Regions from separate parts of the Homo sapiens genome. Here region 2 is linked to region 1. Evidence: promoter capture Hi-C in 16 types of primary human blood cells and fetal thymus (Javierre and others, 2016). All regions are on one chromosome and are shown on one strand. The core of a region is centred on a gene start or on the middle of the fragment in contact, and the rest is flanking DNA. Distances in the headings are between cores, read along the strand shown. Region 1 holds the start of DDX41 (DEAD-box helicase 41). Region 2 overlaps RGS14 (regulator of G protein signaling 14).

Region 1 (2,843 bases), core at 125-2,624:
ATCCAATGCAGATGTGGCTGAGCTCAGTGGGAGCCAGGACATAACCTCACAGGCATTTGATTATAAAAGTGTGGTATCTCTCTCCAGCCCCTGACTACCTGCAGGAAACTTCATTTCCTTGAAGCTCTTGATGGGTGGTGGGATACCGTCTCCCTCCACCAGGATGTGGTATTTCTTCCGCACGCGCTCATGTCGCTCTTCAGACATGCTCAGAACATAACGGGGTGGAGTCCAGCTGTGGATGGGTAACAGGGATCAAGAGAGCCCTGGGAATAGCTGGCCTGGGAGCATCCCTGCATGTACCATCCTAAGCAAGGGCAACTGCAGACTGTACAGACATACCTGGTTTTGATGGGGTCATCATACGTAATGCCCTTAGCCATCTCCTTCACTGACATCAATGCTGAAGAGAGAGACATGGCTCAGGGCTGGCTCCTGCTTCTGAGAAGCCAGATCCCTTGAGATATAACATGCCTGGGGCTGGGAGGAGAAGACTCAGTCCACCTTCTCACTATCCTGGCTACAACCATACCTCGGCCCTCGGCAACACTCTCCAGGATCTTCTCTTCTTCCTTCAGCTGCTTCTCCTTGGCAGACTCTTTGCGCGCTGAGAAAAGAAGTGGAAGATGTCAGACAGATACCAAAACGGTGTACCAGGCTCAGCTTCTTCTTTCTCGCCCAGGCAGTGCTGCCCAGCCCACCTTCAGCCTTCTCTTTAAGGTGCTGGTGCTGATCCAGGAGGCTGACGTTGGACTGAGGGCCTAGCGGGATGTCGTCCTCATCTCCCCGGGGTTCACTACCGCTGTCCTGCTGCTCTTCCTCCGCAGCTCCCTTGCGTCTTCGCTGCAGCAGCTTCTGGAGCTGAGGTTCCACCCGGGATCCACAGATAGGATGGGCATGGAGTCCACAAGGTCAGCGTCAGGATCCTGGCTTTGGGGCGAGGATCCTGTGCCCGAGGCGCAAAGCTGCCCTACCCCTCAGATCAAGCCGTCGGTCCCTCGTTTGTCTGGGGGCCGCGCCCTGGTGTACTGAAGCTCACTCCTCAGACTGCCCTCCTCCCCACGGAGGCCGAGGCCACGCCCGCCCCCTGCGACCCCGCGGTCACGGCCCCATCCCTCCCCGGACGCGTGCCCCTCACCAGTAGCTGCCGGCGCTGCCGTAACGGCACATAGGGCACGTAGTCCTCGTCGTCCTCATCTTCCGCCTCGGAGCGGCTTCCTCCGGCAGGCACCTCGTCGGTGCGAGCCCGCTGCAAGCACACGCCAGTCAGGCACGGCCTGCTCCCCTCTTCACGCCCGCTCCCACACGCGCGGGGTCTCGCCTCTCTCCTACCTTCCGTTCGGGTTCCGACTCCTCCATTCTTTGCTGCACGCATGCGCGCCACGGCGAAACCCCGCCTCATCCTTGCGTGAGACCCAATCCGATGTGAAGAGGCGAACGACGGCGCGTAGGAACGACCTCGGAGTTCCGGATCGCGCAGAGGGACAAATTTGTTCCGGAGATACTATCGCACGGCGAGGCATGGACGCTTTCATGGGTGGTTACGCGACAGTTGCCAGGACCGAGGGCGAAACCGGCTGCAAGGCATTGTGGGACATTGGAGGACTTGGAATATGCGCTAGAAGGCTCAATCCAAGCCCATTGGAAGAGGAAGACGTACGCAGCGGAGACAGCTGATCCGGAGTCGGGGCGGCCTGCCAGGTGCCCAACCTCTCCCAGAGCATGGCGTCTTGGGCACGCCCCTGCCGGCGGACAGTGCGTCCTCTAGGGCCGGGAGCTGCGGGCCGAGTTCGCGTGGGCCCTGCGCTTTCATCCCTGCCGGGGACGCCGGGGTTGCGGGATAAACCGCTCGACACACCCTGCCTCCCTGACTGCGCCTGTGTGACACATACGTTCACTGGTGGGGCACGCATCAGATACGGATGGCAGTGGTTTTGAAGTGGGAGGCCCTGTATAAATGTAAACGGTTATTACTGTAAATGCTCTAACAGAGCTGCCTGGGGGGCGCTTCCAGGGAAGCGTGGCAATCTCAGGCCGGGAGAGGAGAGGCGTCCTGGGCCAGGGCGCTGCAGGAATACAGGTCTGGCGATGTGCAAGTACACAGATTCACCAGGCAACAGCATTGCGGCAAGGGTGGGATGGGGAAGCCAGACCTAAGGCCAGAAAAGGAGATTGCGACCAGAGCATGCCTGCTGTGACTGTCAGAGTAAGTGGTTTCAACTTTATTAGAGACTTCTAAGGAATGACTTGGTCAGCTCTGTGCTTTCTTGCCTTCAAGAGTGTGTGCTGGGCGCTGGCACTGCGCTCAAGCAGATGATAATCAAGACACATACCTGGTGTGCGAGGAGCTTATGTAGATTGAGACTAGAAATATAGACAGATAACTGGTCTTAAAGAGAAAGATCCTAAGACAAGGTACCGCTTTTCGAAGTGTCATAGTTTTCACAGTACAATGGCCTCTTAGCTGGGATGTGAAGGATACACAGGAATTCATGAAGTCTTCTTTAGTAAAGAAAGCTTAGGCTGGGCACAGTGGCTCATTCCTGTAATCCCAGCTCTCTGGGAGGCCAAGGCAGGAGGATCGCTTGAAGCCAGGAGTTCAAGACCAGCTTGGACAACATAGCAAGACCCCATCTCTATAAAAAAAATAAGCTGGTGCTTACTGCCAGTCCCATGGTGGGTCTCAACCTGGGAGGGATGGAGGAGGACATGGTTTCTGGTCCTGCTCACAACACCCAAATACATGGCAATCTCAGGCCGGGAGAGGAGAGGCGTCCTGGGCCAGGGCGCTGCAGGAATACAGGTCTGGCGATGTGCAAGTACACAGATTCACTAGGCAACAG
Region 2 (2,843 bases), core at 155-2,654, 140 kb before region 1:
CATCCCCCTCCAGCGTCCCCCAGTTCTCTGGTGAAGGTGCCCAGTAGTGCCACTGGAAAGCGGCAGACCTGTGACATCGAAGGTACATGGTGGATGAGCTGGGGATCAGAAAGACTAGGGCAGTGGGGTTGGGGACCATTCAGGGTGGCATCAGAGAGCCTTGAGCTAAGGCAGGGGGCTGGGTGCCACTGGGCGTGGAACAGGAAGGATGGGGGTTGGGGGGTCAAAGGGGCTGGAACAGGGGGCCGCAGGCCATTGGTGCTGGGGCCAGGGAGGCAGTGGCCACAGTAAGGCAGTGGGACTATCGTGGGCTGGCATATAGGCAGGTCTGCTGGGGGGACCCTCATGCTGTGGCTTGCCTCCAGGCCTGGTGGAGCTGCTGAACCGGGTGCAGAGCAGCGGGGCCCACGACCAGAGGGGCCTTCTGAGGAAAGAGGACCTGGTACTTCCAGAATTTCTGCAGCTGCCCGCCCAAGGGCCCAGCTCCGAGGAGACCCCACCACAGACCAAATCAGCAGCCCAGCCCATCGGGGGATCCTTGAACTCCACCACCGACTCAGCCCTCTGACAGCTACCCAACAGTCCAGGACAGCTGCATGGCACCCGGCGGGCCGAGCATGCCATGGGTCCGCTCTGCATGCCCTGTCTGTGCCATGAGTGTCCCTGGCCCCTTCCTGCCATGGGCAGGCCCGCAGGAAGAGCCGGTAGGGGTGGAAAGGGGACTCAGATGAGACACACCCCACAGCTGCCACCGCCTTGTCCCTCAACAAGCTCACCCCCAATCCCTTGCAGCCAGGCCACAATGGGGGAGGTGAGTCCAGCCCCTTGGAACAGGCTTGCCCAACATGGAGGGATGGCGTTGGCAGTGCCAGCCTCCCCAGCCTGTGCCAAGCTTCAACAGGGGCAAGAGGAGGGGCCGGCCCCTCCTCAGGAAGCTGGTATGAGTAAGGCCTTGAGGGTGCAGGCAGGCAGCCCTGTACCCCACCCACATAGACTATACTGTACATACAGATTTTGCAGTAGGCTTGGGGCAGCTGGGTTTGTCCTTGATGTATGATACTGTTATTATAATAATTATTATTATTCTGCCATGAGTTGTCTTCCTTGTGTGCCAGACTGTCCTGTGGCTTCCCCCACCCTCAAAACACACTACTTCTGTCACCAAGGTCAGTGCCAGGAAACTCTTGGGGACCTCAGGATGTGCCTCCTGACTTCCTGTTTTCAGAACCTCTCTTCCTGACTGCACAGTATATGGGGTGGTGTGTGAATATCTTATAGTATTTTTTTTTTTAAGAATATGGGAGCTGGGTGAGGTGGCTCACACCTGTAATCCCAGCACTTTGGGAGACCAAGGGGGGTGGGGGTGGATCGCTTGAGCTCAGGAGTTTGAGACCAGTCTGGGCAACATGTCAAAACTCTGTCTCTACCAAAAATACAAAAAATTACCTGGGTGTGGTGGTGCATGCCTGTGGTCCCAGCTACTTGGGAGACAGGTGGAAGAGGATCACTTGAGCCCGGAAGGCGAAGGTTGCAGTGAGCCGAGATCGTGCCACCGCACTCCAGCCTGGATGACAGAGTGAGACCTGTCATGGTGTGGAGGTGAGAGAGAGGGCGGGGAGAGGTGTGGGGGTGAAGAACCCTGTGGGGAGCTGTGCCTCTCCATCATGTTGCTGTTGTACTGTGGTCTCTGTGGATCTGAGTACATCATTCTGGTCCTGTTCTCTGCTTCTACTGGGGACTGAGTGTCTCTGCACACATAACTGGAGAATCCTTTGAGGGCACCAAAGGTCTATAAGGGGGACACTGATTGTTGTAGCAGGGGCAGGTTCTCTCTCTTTTTTTTTTTTGAGACGGAGTCTCCCTCTGTCGCCCAGGCTAGAGTGCAGTGGCGCGATCTTGGCCATCTTGGCTCACTGCAAGCTTCGCCTCCAGGGTTCACGCCATTCTCCTGCCTCAGCCTCCTGAGTAGCTGGGACTACAGGCCCCCGCCACCGTGCCCAGCTAATTTTTTGTATTTTTAGTAGAGACGGGGTTTCACCGTGTTAGCCAGGATGGTCTCGATCTCCTGACCTTGTGAGCCGCCTGCCTCGGTCTCCTAAAGTGTTGGGATTACAGGCGTGAGCCACCGCACCTGGCCCCTCAGGGGCAGGTTCTCACTCTTACCTGCTTTAGCTGGGTGGTCTAGCTGGAAGTCCAAACCCCTCACTGTGGGAGGCAAGGAGGACCTCCCAGAAGGAGGGCCCCAGACTGCGGGGAGAGAAGCCAGACTGGGTTCCAGCCCAGAGAGGTAAGTGCTGCAACAGGAAGCTAGGGGGTGTAGGGGCCAGGAGAAGGCACCTGAGAGAGTGAGGGGTGTCTCCTGACTGCCTCAAACAGGTCACGTTGCCTTCCCCATTGGAATCTTTGCACTCGCTGTCTCCTCTGCCAGGAACTCCCCTTACCTGCCCCGTGCGCAGTCAACTGGCTCCTCCTCCTCCTGGAAATCTGTGGGGTTTGCCAGCCACCCTGTCCCACTATGGGAGCTTCACACCTCTGCCCCCTCAGCCCATTTTGTTTGGCTGGCATAACCGGATCCCTGGCAAGCCTGGCTGATCAGAATACTCCATTCCACTGGCCAATCAGCGTACTCCATTCCACTAGCCAATCAGAGTAGTACCTTTCCCTGGCCAGAATTTGGTTCAGACATAGTCCTCTGACCTCAGGTGTTCCAATCAGAGTCCCAGTCCCGGTCATTTTCTACCGTCTCCTGGGGTTTGTAGAAAGGACCCTTAGGGAGCGAACCTGCATGTGAATGCAGCCAACACTGGAGAGCAAGACTAAAAGATGAAGGAAGATTCCTGACG

Evidence for each region. The method cuts DNA at HindIII sites, captures the fragments that hold promoters and counts their contacts. A CHiCAGO score of 5 or more calls a contact.
Region 2: a fragment that was not itself captured here is called in contact with the fragment with the promoter of DDX41 in region 1 in 4 of 17 cell types (activated CD4 T cells, naive CD4 T cells, total CD8 T cells and 1 more); the score reaches 7.7 in activated CD4 T cells.

Annotation. Positions count from the first base shown.
Region 1 is chr5:177,515,587-177,518,429 of GRCh38, forward strand. It overlaps DDX41 (DEAD-box helicase 41), which reads right to left and starts at 1,375. Exons shown (of 17, transcript NM_016222.4): 1 at 1,333-1,375; 2 at 1,139-1,249; 3 at 702-861; 4 at 533-607; 5 at 343-403; 6 at 99-235. The coding sequence starts at 1,359. RefSeq lists enhancers at 617-1,441, 1,470-1,739. The HindIII fragment of the contact is 2,611 bases long and covers 1-2,515 here.
Region 2 is chr5:177,371,508-177,374,350 of GRCh38, forward strand. It overlaps RGS14 (regulator of G protein signaling 14), which reads left to right. Exons shown (of 15, transcript NM_006480.5): 14 at 1-82; 15 at 366-1,089. The coding sequence ends at 568. Among named protein-coding and RNA genes, the nearest start is that of SLC34A1, 12 kb to the right of the region's middle. RefSeq lists an enhancer at 2,195-2,695. The HindIII fragment of the contact is 1,028 bases long and covers 891-1,918 here.